4 separate regions of the Homo sapiens genome follow, and all the other regions are linked to region 3. Evidence: promoter capture Hi-C in 16 types of primary human blood cells and fetal thymus (Javierre and others, 2016). All regions are on one chromosome and are shown on one strand. The core of a region is centred on a gene start or on the middle of the fragment in contact, and the rest is flanking DNA. Distances in the headings are between cores, read along the strand shown. Region 1 holds the start of YY1AP1 (YY1 associated protein 1). Region 2 holds the start of MSTO1 (misato mitochondrial distribution and morphology regulator 1). Region 3 holds the start of MTX1 (metaxin 1). Region 4 has its middle 35 kb from the start of YY1AP1.

Region 1 (2,876 bases), core at 54-2,553, 480 kb after region 3:
ACACAAATAAAGGCAAACTCTTACGGAAACACTTGCCATCCTCACATACACACACCAACACAGCCGCTACACACCAACAGACCATCTGTCTGCTAGACCAAAAACATCTCTTTCCATGTACAAACTAACCAGTGACATTTATTAAACGTACAACACTGAGATCATCCTGTCGTTCCCACATACCGTTCAACGCGGCAGGGACACCACAGACCTTGTCACACAGGTAAAATCCCCTCTCAAGATCGTGTCCTCGACCACTCTTATCCCTTAATTAAACACACACAAACTGGACTATGGGGGAGGCTCCGATCATGCCTACAAACACAAACTAACCTGTCAGGGGCACAGCCGACTCCGCCTCCACTCGCTTACTTCCCAGCCCCCTCCGGGAGTCTGCCTGTCAGGGACACCCCTTCACCCCGCCTGGAGGGACTTCCCGGTAGGCTCAGGATCCCCCTCCCTGCTCTCCCCTCCCCCATCTTCACCACTGCTCTCCCAGAGGTCCAGGTCCGGGAGATGACAGTGGCTCCCAGAAAGCCCAGGATTCAATCGCTGAGAGAGTGCTTAGGCCCGAATGCCGGCCCAAATCGTTCTACTCACCGTGTCGGAGGCCGAGAGCGATGAGAGTACAGGGAAGTGAGGAAGAGGGGGTGGCCGCCAGGCTCCTCCGCTTCCCTGGGTCCACCGCGGATCCCTCCCGCTTGTCAGGAGGCGGCCAGCGGGTAAGCCGACTGGCGGAAATGCGAGAGAGGAGAAGGGAAAGGTGGAGGGCTAAAGGGGCAAACTGAGAGGAGGCGGATCCCGCAACCGACACTGGGATCGTTTCCCCTCGCAAAGCGAACCCAAAATGGCGGCGGCAGCGGCGGCAGCAGAGTGGCCGCGGCAGCTCCTCCAGAGGGAGGGAGCTAAGGGCGCCTAGCGACACCCCCAACCTCCCACTCCTCCCTCCTCGCGTTCTTCCCCACGGTCCCCCGCTTCGCCCGACTCCGGCCATGTAGCGCGCACGTCAGCCCGCACGCGTACGAGTGTCTACGGGCTCGTCGCTGGCTGCTCCCACCAACCACCACCTTCGGCCGTCCTGCGAGCCAGCCATCCCGTACGCGCTCACCCACGGGAACCTCCTCGCCCAGTTCTCCACTCCCCCTCAGACCCTGTCAAGCCGGCTCCAGCGCAGGCCCTCACGCGTACCTTCAGCGGCGCGAGCCCAAGCCTTCTCCACCTCCTCTTCTCTCCTCCCCCTCCCTCCCCGCCCGCACGGCCACCAACCGCCGCCAAAGCAGCCGCCGCCAGCACCCCCACCCTACACTCCTCGCGCGTGCGCCTCCCACAGTCCCCACCGCGGGACTGTTCCATTCCTGGCGGCTGCAGGGGCAGGAGAGGAAGGGACCGGCAAAGCGAGTCTGGCTTGCCGTTTGACTGGAATTGCCAGGGTGGCCGGCCGAGTCCCATGACAACCTACCTCCCTGGGTTCGTCGCCGCGGCGCTGCGGCTCGCCTCCTCCTCCATGGGACCGCGGCGAGGGGATCGAGGGCGGCCTAGCGCCCCTCTGCCGGCCGGTGGTTGGAGGCCGCGGCGGCTGCGCGTTGAGTCGTTTCCTGCCGGATGACCCGACCCTTTTTTGCAGTCTCAGGACGGGCGCTTTGGAGCCGGCCCCAGGCAGCGTGTGTCGGTCGCCTAGTCTGGAGAACTAGTCCTCGACTCACGGTGAGGGAATGGACCGACACGGGTATTGTACCGCTGAGGGAAAGGAGCGGGACTCCGGACCTCCAGGAGGTAGGGAGTGAGGCCGGTAGACCGGCGCGCCTCCGGGGGGGATTCCTCCCGGGCGTTGAGTTGCCAACCTGGGACCCGAGGAAGTTCGGCGTGGTGGTGTGCTTTTTGTTGTTGTTAACCCTCCTCGGATTTCTCGAATTTCACACCACTGTCCATATGCGATGATGTTTGTTTGCCCTTGACGCACTTACTCATGGATGGTACTTCAGCCTCGTTAGACAGCCTGGTGATGGAGGATGAAGAAACCATGTGCTTCTCATTCAGTTCTGGACTCAGTTTCCCTTGTCTTCAGCAAGTTATTTTTGTTAGTTCCTTATCAAAAAGTGTACATAAAAATTAGGCAACTCCAAACATGCCTCCAGGGTTGGTGTGTGAAATAATAAGATAGGGCTGGGCGCGGTGGCTCACGCCTGTAATCCCAGCACTTTGGGAGGCCGAGGCAGGTGGATGACAAGGTGAAGAGATCGAGACAATCCTGGCCAACATGGTGAAACCCCGTCTCTACTAAAAATACAAATATTAGCCGGCCGTGGTGGCGGGCGCCTGTAGCCCCAGCTACTCGGGAGGCTGAGGCAGGAGAATTGCTTGAACCCGGGCGGCGGAAGTTGCAGTGAGCCGAGATCGCGCCACTGCACTCCAGCCTGGCGACAAAGCGAGACTCCGTCACACACACACACACACACACGAAATAATAATATATGTAAAGTGGAATTAGCTCCTAGGCATAGGGAAGGTGCAGAGTATTGCCGTGTTGTCATTTACAGTTCTGTTGATGTCGATAACGTTTGTGGGTGTAATGGGTAGTGTTCTGTCCCTCCAAGTCGTTAATAAAACAAAGCAGGCCGGGCGTCTTGTTAAATAGTTGTATCAATGACTTGATTTAGATTAATGAGGATATATTTTTCAAATTTATGCCTTTTACAAAATTTTTAAAGAGTAGGTAATGTCGGTGATAGATATAAAGAAAGGAAAAGATCTCCAGATGTGGAATCTTCTACTGGATCCTGTAACAGAAAGAAGACATTAGGCTGGGCGCAGTGGCTCACACCTGTAATCTCAGCACTTTGGGAGGCGGAGGAGGGCGCATTGCTTGAGCCTAGGAG
Region 2 (2,993 bases), core at 398-2,897, 400 kb after region 3:
GCAGATCGCTTGAGCTCAGGAGACCAGCCTGGGCAAGATGGTGAAACCCCTTCTGTACAAAAAATACAAAAATTAGCCGGGTGCAGTGGCCTATGCCTGTAATTGCAGCTACTTGGGAGGCTGAGGTGGGAGGATCGCTTCAGCCCAAGAGGTTGAAGCTTCAGTGAGCCGGGAGATTGCACCACTGCACTCCAGCCAGGGCAAAGAGAGTGAGACAGTCTCAAAATAAATAAACAAAACTAAATATAATACATGTGAAAATACAAAGAGCTCAGAAGAGATAAGAGCATCTAACCTTTATTTCTTGAAAAAATTTCAAACCTACAAGAATGCTCAGAGAGTACTGCAAAAGAACACCTATAATCTTCACCTAGATTCAATTAACATTTTGTCACTTTTTAAAATTTTGAGACAGGGTCTCCCTCTGTCTCTGGCTGCAGTGCAGTGCTCCAATCATGGTTCACCGCAGCCTCTAATTCCTGCGCTGAAGCGATCCTCTCACCCTAGCCTCTGGTTAGGACTACAGATGTGGGCTGCCTAGCTAATTTTTTGAAAAATTCTTTTATAGAGAGGATAGGGGGAGGGGGAGTCTCACTACATTGTCCAGTCTACCCTCACATTCTCGAATTTCTGGACTCAAGCGATCTTCCTGCCTCAGCCTCACCAAAACGTGGGAATACAGGCGTGAGCCTCTGCGCCCAACCAATATTTGCCTTATCTCTTTTTTTTTTTTTTTTTTTTTGAGATGGAGTCTGGCTCTGTTGCCCAAGGTGGAGTGCAGTGGCGCGATCTCGGCTCACCGCAAGCTCCGCCTCCCGGGTTCACGCCATTGTCCTGCCTCCGCCTCCCAAGTAGCTGGGACTACAGGTCGCGCCCGTCACCACGCCCGGCTAATTGTTAGTATTTTTAGTAGAGACGGGGTTTCACCGTGTTAGCCAGGATGGTCTCGATCTCCTGACCTCGTGATCCACCCGCCTCGGCCTCCCAAAGTGCTGGGATTACAGGCTTGAACCGCGGCGCCCGGCCTTTTTTATTTTTATTTTTATTTTTTTATTTTTTATTTTTTAGAGAGGAGTTTTGCTCTTGTTTCCCAGGCTGGAGTGCAGTGGCGTGATATCGGCTCACTGCAACTTCCACCTCCCAGGTTCAAATGATTCCCTGACTCAGCCTCCTGAGCAGCTGGGAGTACAAGGGCCCGCCACCACGCCCGGCTACATGTTTTGTATTTTTAGTAGAGACCGGGGTTTCATCATGTTAGCCAGGCTGGTCTCAACCTCCTGACCTCAGTTGATCCTCCTGCCTCGGCCTCCCAAAGTGTTGGGATTACAGGCGTAAACTACCGCACCCGGCCCTTGCCTTGTTTCTAAATACACACAAGAATGTTAATCATAGCACCTAATAGCCCAAAAATTGGAAACAATCCCAAAAGCTATTATCAGCAGTATATATATATATATATATATATATATTTTTTTTTTTTTTTTTTTTGAGACAGAGTCTCGCTCTGTCGCCCAGGATGGAGTGCATTGGCGTGATCTCGGCTCACTGCAAGCTCCGCCTCCCGGGTTCACGCCATTCGCCTGCCTCAGCCTCCCGAGTAGCTGGGACTACAGGCGCCCGCCACCACGCCCAGCTAATTTTTTTTTGTATTTTTAGTAGAGATGGGGTTTCACCGTGTTAGCCAGGATGGTCTCGATCTCTTGACCTCGTGATCTGCCCGCCTCAGCCTCCCAAAGTGCTGGGATTACAGGCGTGAACCACCGCGCCCAGCCTATTCTTTCTTTAGAATAGATCAGTGGTGGCGTATTCATACAATGGACTATTCCGCAGTGATGAAAATGAATTATAGATATTTGCAAAAATATGAATTACATAAACCATATTGAGCAAAAGACGCCAACAGATACATACTCTCTTTACATAAGGTGTTAGATACACAGAGATAGATAAATACGTGTAAATGATAGAGATATGATAGCTAAGCCAGTCCACAGGTTATTAGTCGTGGTCCACGTGACTTCTGAAGAGATGAAGGGGCATGGGAGGCTTTAGGGGAGCTTCCGCTTTTCTGGCAAGGTTTTCTTTTTGCCCGGGGAGCTATCAGCCAGCGGAGAGATCTGTGAGAAGGGATAAGACCTCAAGACAAGTAGGAAGCAGAGCCTTCCACGGCCCGCGCCCTGGCGGCCCCAAGTCAGCGGCGGAGACGGCGCCCACCCCGCTCCAACGTGGAGCAGGAGCAACGGCGTGGCCCGTGGAGCCCCGCCCCTCACAGGCAACCACAGAGAAGCCGGACTGGGCCACGTCTAGGAAGAGGTAGGAAGGGATCGGCGCATCGTTTCTCCAATGGGAAAGGATGTGTTTGCGGGCCAATAAGTAGCCGAGAATAACACCCGCCCACGCGCCTGCCAAGCCAATCGGCTAGGAGCAGCGAGCGGCGCGGCTGAGGCGCGGCGGCCCCGTGGAGCAGCGCAGTATGGCGGGCGGGGCCCGGGAGGTGCTCACACTGCAGTTGGGACATTTTGCCGGTTTCGTGGGCGCGCACTGGTGGAACCAGCAGGTGAGGTCAGCCGGCAGCTGCCCCCGAGGAGCCCTTCGGGATCTACAGTCCCGACGTTCAGCCGGCCTGCCTCGTCCTCTCTGCTTCCCCAGGATGCTGCGCTGGGCCGAGCGACCGATTCCAAGGAGCCCCCGGGAGAGCTGTGCCCCGACGTCCTGTATCGTACGGGCCGGACGCTGCACGGCCAGGAGACCTACACGCCGCGACTCATCCTCATGGATCTGAAGGGTGAGGTGGTGGCAGAGTTAGCCGATGCCCCTTATTTCCCTTCCGCGTGCCTAGTCCTTGCGCTGCCGTTATCTTCAAGACCCTCCCACCTTACCGAGCTCCAGGACCGGAGATGAGGAGCTGAGCACAACATGCCAACACTCGAGGGGCCCACGACAGTTGCTCAAGAGCCATTTCGGGAATAGGCTGCTAGGCCCTGGAGACAGTG
Region 3 (3,055 bases), core at 106-2,605:
CTCTCCCACATCCATCGGCCCATCCCACCACCAGACCTCCGGGAGAGCCCAGGCTTCTTGGTCCCCACCCCCGCCCTGTCCTTGGGCAGCCAGGAGCCCAGGGGGACGAAGCCCAGGGACCTACAGTACGCCCACCTTCAGGCTGCTCTCCCAGACCCTAGGGTGCCTACAGATGCTCAGGAACCACCCCAGCCAGGCAGCCTGAGCATCCAGTTCCTGAGTCCTCTGCCCTGGCCTCATGCCTGACCCTGTCCTGTTCCAGCTCCCCCACTACTCTCCGGTGCCCACTCCTCTCCACCAGGCCATAATTTCACCAACTCTAGGCAGTCTTAAGTTTTCCTCTGGCTCAATTTCTGGACTCTTCCCCTCTCCCCTTGCCCACATGTTCTCTGCTACTTGGGCTGAGGGCAAATGGGGAAGAAGCAGAGAGCGGTCTAAGAGGATGGAGACAGGCTTACCCTGCAGATCCTGACTGGCAGATGTGAAAAAGCAAAGGAGGAGAAGAGCCAGGGCCCCCCGAAGTTCCTGCGTCTCCATGCCTCTCAGCCGGCTCACTACCCCTGGCAGGCAGGCAGCTGGGAGGGGAAAAGGCTAGGCGGAGAGAGCAGGAGCCGGGGGGCGGAGGGACAGAATTGGAGGGGGGGCCAGCAGGCGGGTGAGGGGGGGCTGAAACAAAGAGCTGCCAATCACCCTGGAGGCATCATCAGCTCTGGGAACCAGGGGCACTGGGAAAGAATCCTGGAGGCCTCCCTGCTTTCTACCTCTCCCTAATGATCCTCCCCCAGGTGCCTCCCTCTCCGCAGTCATCATTGTTGGGGGTCTCGGCACACAGCGCTACCGAATGCCACTGTTTTCTGGAAGCCACGATTGTGGAAGGCAAGAACCCCTGGCAGGGGCAGTGCTAGACAGTGGGCATTATTCCACAGCTGGCAGGAAAGGATGCCAAGGGAGTGGCCGCAACTAGCTTGCTATAGTGCCCAGGGATGCCCACATGGCATGAATTTTGCTGTTCTGGCGGAGCAAGTGCTCTTTATTAGGGTGGGGGGTCCCCTGACAAGTGCCTGTTTCTCCATTTTCCCTCATTCGTAGGAAAGCTTGGGAGTCTGGAAGCGTCTGACGGGAACTGAAGGGAGAATCTAAAGCAGTGGTCAGTGAGGTCAGAGTGAAGAAACCAAAAAAGAGGAAAGGGACACCAGGGACAGGCGCAGAAGACCAGGGGTACAGGCGAGGAGCCAAGGACCAGACTGTGGAACACTGTGGGTACTAGCGGACGGGCCGTGACCCGGATGAAGCAGAGGGGCGCCTGAGTTCCCGTCACCTAAGCGACAGCCTGCGAGCCTCTCTTCCCCTCCCCCACCCAAGCCCCAGCCCGGCCTCCGCTCCGGCCGCCGCCACCGCCCCTGTTTTGTTTCCATGGCGACAGGCGGCGCAGGGCCCGCTCCAAACATAACGCGCTGTGGAAAACATGCTGCTCGGGGGACCCCCCCGCAGTCCCCGCTCGGGGACGAGCCCCAAGGGGCCCTGGAGCAGTACAGGCCACGTGCAGTTTGGCAAGAGCCCCCAGACCTGGCCCAGGCGCACAAGACCCCGCTCTCCAGAGCCTGCCGCGCCTTCAGGGGTTCGGGGCTCCACTTGGACGAGGCGCCGTGACTCTCCGAGGCGCGCCGGGCCGACAGCGCTGTCCCGCTACGTGGGCCACCTCTGGATGGGCCGGCGGCCGCCCTCCCCCGAGGCCCGCGGCCCAGTCCCCCGCAGTTCAGCTGCCAGTCGGGCCAGAAGAAGCCTCGCCTCCCCGGGGATCTCCCCAGGCCCCCTGACCGCAACGATCGGAGGGGCGGTGGCGGGGGGCGGGCCCAGGCAGGGGAGGGCAGAAGCACACAAGGAAGTGTTTCCGGGACAGAGGGTGGGCAAGATGGCGGCGCCCATGGAGCTGTTCTGCTGGTCAGGGGGCTGGGGGCTGCCGTCAGTGGACCTGGACAGCCTGGCCGTGCTGGTGAGGGGTGGCGCCGGCGCCCTCTGCTGTGCCCTGATGACTGGGGAGGGGGCCGAACTAGCCAAGCATCCAAACCTTGCCAGGGCTACTCAGCACGGGCGCAGTGGGGGAAACTGAGGCAGTCAAAGAGCGTACGTGGCCGATATGGCCTCAGTGCCCTATGCTGTAGTTTTCTAGGCTTAATGCAGCAATGAAAAGACGCCTGGTTGGGAGTTCAGGTGATGGGTTCTAGTCCTTGCTCATCCATTCACTGGCTGTGTGACCTTGCGGAGATCCTTTCTCTTTGGGCATTTTTTTTCTCCATTCGGAGGTTTACTAGGCTGGACTGTCTCAGGGACCTACTCTAGCTTGGAATTCCTGCCTTCTCCTCAGCCCCCTTCTCCTCTTCCTCCTCACTTAACAGCATTTACTGAGGCTATTGTTTGTTAGACCAAACGACTCACAGCCAGGCTTTGTATAAAGAGCTTAGCAATCAGACTTCCTTTGCTTCATTTATTCATTGACTCCTTGCTTTAAAGAGGATCTATTAGATTTCTTCCAAATATTAAACATTGCCAGGCAAAGATGAATAAAATTTGGTTCCTCCCTTCGAGTTTACAGAAAGGCAGATAGGTAAGCAAATAAATATAATAAAATATTCACATATAAGTTAAAGTAGGAACAGACCACAGATACTGCCAAAGAGAAGGGCATTATCAGTGCTTCCAAGAAGAGGGATACTGGTTAGGAAAAGCTTCTGAGGATAGATGTTCACCAGGTAGATGGCAAGAGAGGAGATAGAGGAAAGGATTTTCCTGGCTGTCCTGTAATCACAGACATGTCCGGAATCTCTCTGAGCCCTGTGTTGTCCATTTGTAAAATAGAAATGGTAGTGACTCCCCCTTTTTTTTCGAGACTAAGATACTAAGTATAGGGAATGGCACATAAGGTATTCAATAAATGTTATTTCTCTTCTTGATACCACTGTGGGGGACATGGCTCTGCCTCTCTGACTTCTGCTTCCTTCCCTGCAGACCTATGCCAGATTTACTGGTGCTCCACTGAAGGTACACAAGATCAGCA
Region 4 (2,899 bases), core at 129-2,628, 450 kb after region 3:
GATGTTGGAGATGAACAAAGCCAACAGTCCTTTGCCAGAGCTGGACTGGTGGTATTTAACAGTCTTTGGGTTAAATTTTAAAGTCTTAATAAATACCCAGAATCCATTAATTGCCAGAGAAGTAAAATAAAACCCTGCTGTAAAATTAAGCTGATTCCCAGTATGCCTGGTCCCAGTATACACAGGCCAGGGCTAACCATTATGGGACTAAAAATACTTATCTGTTATTTTGTTCTTTTGAATGGGAACTTCAGGGGGTGTATACCTATCCTCTCAGGAATAATGTTACAAAAATGAAGTAAAACATTTTGCTTAATTATTACAAAGGAAATGATTCCATCCATTTGGAAGAAGGCAATAAATTATAAAAATATAAAAACTGCTACTATTATCAAACCTACAGTAACTATGCAGCATAGACACCAAGGAGAGTTGGTAGGCATTCACTTATCTTTTGACTGTCTTTAAAACAGGTACTTCAGGTCTTCCACAGGTTCACAGGTATAGTGGCTGACGGAAGCTTCAAGTTACAGGTCTGGGGCTTCAGGTATTGCAGGCTTGACCCTAGAAAGACGTATCCAACTTCTAATCCTGGTACTTTGACTACAGAAGGCGTGGCCAACACCACTGAAAAAGTCCCTTCCATTTGGGTTGGAGTTGTTGAGCAGGTGACCCCTCTTTCTGTGTTTTAACAAATACTTTTCTCTCCTGGCCTGATCTTGGGTTGCTGGTTAGTTCCCAATGCAGAGAACCTTTGAGTTCCAAACTTTTGAAATGCCTGCTGAAATTGTCTCCGGTTAATTACGTATTTTACTAAACTGGCTATTTCTGGATCAGTAATTAGATCATCCATTAAAAATGGCCTTCCCAGCCAGGTGCAGTGGCTCATTCTTATAATCCCAGCACTTTGGGAGGCCAAGGTGGGTGGATCACTTGAGGTCATGAGTTCAAGACCAGCCTGGCCAACATAGTGAAACCCCATCTATACTAAAAATACAAAAATTAGCGGGGTGTGGTGGCTCACACCTGTAATGCCAGCTACTTGGGAGGCTGAGGCAGGAGAATTACTTGAACCTGGGAGGTGGAGGTTGCAGTAAGCCAAGACTGTGCCACTGCACTCCAGTCTGGACAACAGAGTGAGACTCTGTCTCAAAAAAAAAAAAAAAGACTTCTGTATAACATTTTAAATGGGCTCATATTAATTTTTGCTCTAGGGGAATTATGGATCCTTAAAAGGACTATGGGCAGCAAGCTGACCCAAGTTTCTGAAGTTTCCTGACATAGCTTAGCTAATGCCGATTTTAGAGGTTGATTAGCCCTTTCTACTTTCCCAGAGGATTGAGGTCTCCATGCTGAATGTAAATAGTATTAGATTCTGAGAGCCTTAGCAACCCTTTTAGTTATTTGGGAGACGAAAGACATACTGCTCTCACCTTGGAGGCTTTGGGGTAACCCAAACTGGGGATTATTTATCTTAGGAGAACTTTTATAACTTCATTAGCCTTCTTTGTTCTGCTAGGGTAAGCCAGTAAATGTGTCTATTAGTACTAGCAAAAACTTGTATCCCCTACAAGCTGGCATATGGGTAAAATCCAATTGCCAGTCTTCCCCTGGGGAAGTGCCCCTTCTCCGGACTGGTTCTATTAGAGGAGGCATTTTGTTCCTGGGGTTGTTGAATGCTCACAGTGAACAGGTTTGACAGACCTGCTTAACCACGGAAGTTAAGTCAGGCCCAATGAAGAGCCTGTTTATCATGGCAAGAGTGGCATCTCCTCACATATGGAAAGAGTCATGCAGGATTTTTATAATTCTCCATTGGGCTGTTTGAGGGAGATACACTTTTGATACTATATACCACCAGGATCCTTGTTTGTGTCCATCTTCCTCCTTTACTTCGAATATCCCTGAATACATCACAGGGATATTCAGGTTCTATTGGGGAATCATAGAAAGGAAGCAGTGCTAGAATTTGTCGGGATTACACCCTGAGCAGTGCGGCTTTGGCTTATCAGCCTTTCTGTGCCCTTGTGTTACAGGGGTTAGGTTCTTTTGATGCCCCCTACAATGAATTATGGCTATGCTTTTGGCAAGTGTATTGCTTCCAACAGTTGAAGAATTTCAGACCCATGCTTTATGGTGGAAGATTTACTAGTTAGTAGTCCTCTTTCTCTTTCTTTTCAAATTGCAGCATGAGCATGAAACACGAGAAATGCATGTTTGGAATCTGTATAGATGTTAAGCTTTTTCCCTTTTCCTAATGTCAGAACTCGAGTAAGAGCAATGATCTCAGCTTTTTGTGCTGACATACCTGGGGGCAGGGGTTGGACCTCAATAATTGTATTGTAATTTACTGTTGTATATCTGGCCCAGTGTTCCCGTTTGATATAAAGCTGCTGAGGTCTGTGAACCAGTCATCCTCTGAATCTGGGAGAGGTCAACCTTTTAAATCAGGCTGGCTAACATATGTATGTGCAATAACTTGCTCGCAGGAATGATTAATTATTGGGCCTGTGGGCAGCAATCAAGCTGGATTCACAGTGTTACAGGTTTTAAGGGTCACATCTAGATTTTCCAGGAGCATAGCCTGGTATTTGGTTAACCTTTCCCCCATCATACAGTTGTGTCCTTTTATTTCTAGGATTGACTTGATGTGGGGTTAATACTTCCAGTGGCTGACCCAGGGTGATTTTAGCGGCTTCTTCCACTAAAATAGCAGTGTCTGCCATCGACGGCAAGCAGCTTGGCCACCGTGTCCAATTTCTTTGAGAAGTAGGCAGTTGGCACTCCCATGGCTATGCCTTTCCCTTCTGCTACATACAAGGGCTTAGTGAGGTCTAGGATGCTAAGAGCGGGAGGCTGGCTGAGAGCCTGTTTTAACTTGATAAAGCCTTCTCTCATT

The links. Contacts are between HindIII fragments. The CHiCAGO score rates a contact against its expected background, and 5 or more counts as called.
Region 1: a contact is called between the fragment with the promoter of YY1AP1 here and the fragment with the promoter of MTX1 in region 3, in 1 of 17 cell types (endothelial precursors). The highest score is 7.1, in endothelial precursors.
Region 2: a contact is called between a fragment that was not itself captured here and the fragment with the promoter of MTX1 in region 3, in 2 of 17 cell types (endothelial precursors and fetal thymus). The highest score is 10.4, in endothelial precursors.
Region 4: a contact is called between a fragment that was not itself captured here and the fragment with the promoter of MTX1 in region 3, in 1 of 17 cell types (endothelial precursors). The highest score is 5.9, in endothelial precursors.

The regions. Positions count from the first base shown.
Region 1 is chr1:155,687,471-155,690,346 of GRCh38, forward strand. YY1AP1 (YY1 associated protein 1) reads right to left here and starts at 1,304. Exons shown (of 11, transcript NM_139119.3): 1 at 1,189-1,304; 2 at 601-731. It overlaps DAP3 (death associated protein 3), which reads left to right and starts at 1,621. Exons shown (of 13, transcript NM_004632.4): 1 at 1,621-1,704. It also overlaps the pseudogene LOC124904430. RefSeq lists enhancers at 710-1,344, 1,720-1,769 and a silencer at 1,180-1,229. The HindIII fragment of the contact is 12,603 bases long and covers 1-2,876 here.
Region 2 is chr1:155,607,776-155,610,768 of GRCh38, forward strand. MSTO1 (misato mitochondrial distribution and morphology regulator 1) reads left to right here and starts at 2,443. Exons shown (of 14, transcript NM_018116.4): 1 at 2,443-2,557; 2 at 2,650-2,785. The coding sequence starts at 2,474. It overlaps LOC105371452 (a long non-coding RNA gene), which reads right to left. Exons shown (of 2, transcript XR_922171.2): 2 at 1,834-2,117. RefSeq lists enhancers at 1,430-2,304, 2,305-2,993. The HindIII fragment of the contact is 2,982 bases long and covers 157-2,993 here.
Region 3 is chr1:155,207,340-155,210,394 of GRCh38, forward strand. It overlaps MTX1 (metaxin 1), which reads left to right and starts at 1,356. Exons shown (of 8, transcript NM_002455.5): 1 at 1,356-1,993; 2 at 3,007-3,055. The coding sequence starts at 1,466. THBS3 (thrombospondin 3) reads right to left here and starts at 558. Exons shown (of 23, transcript NM_007112.5): 1 at 459-558. The coding sequence starts at 537. RefSeq lists an enhancer at 1-342 and a silencer at 1,706-1,905. The HindIII fragment of the contact is 1,632 bases long and covers 1,093-2,724 here.
Region 4 is chr1:155,652,628-155,655,526 of GRCh38, forward strand. No RefSeq gene overlaps it. Among named protein-coding and RNA genes, the nearest start is that of YY1AP1, 35 kb to the right of the region's middle. The HindIII fragment of the contact is 1,720 bases long and covers 519-2,238 here.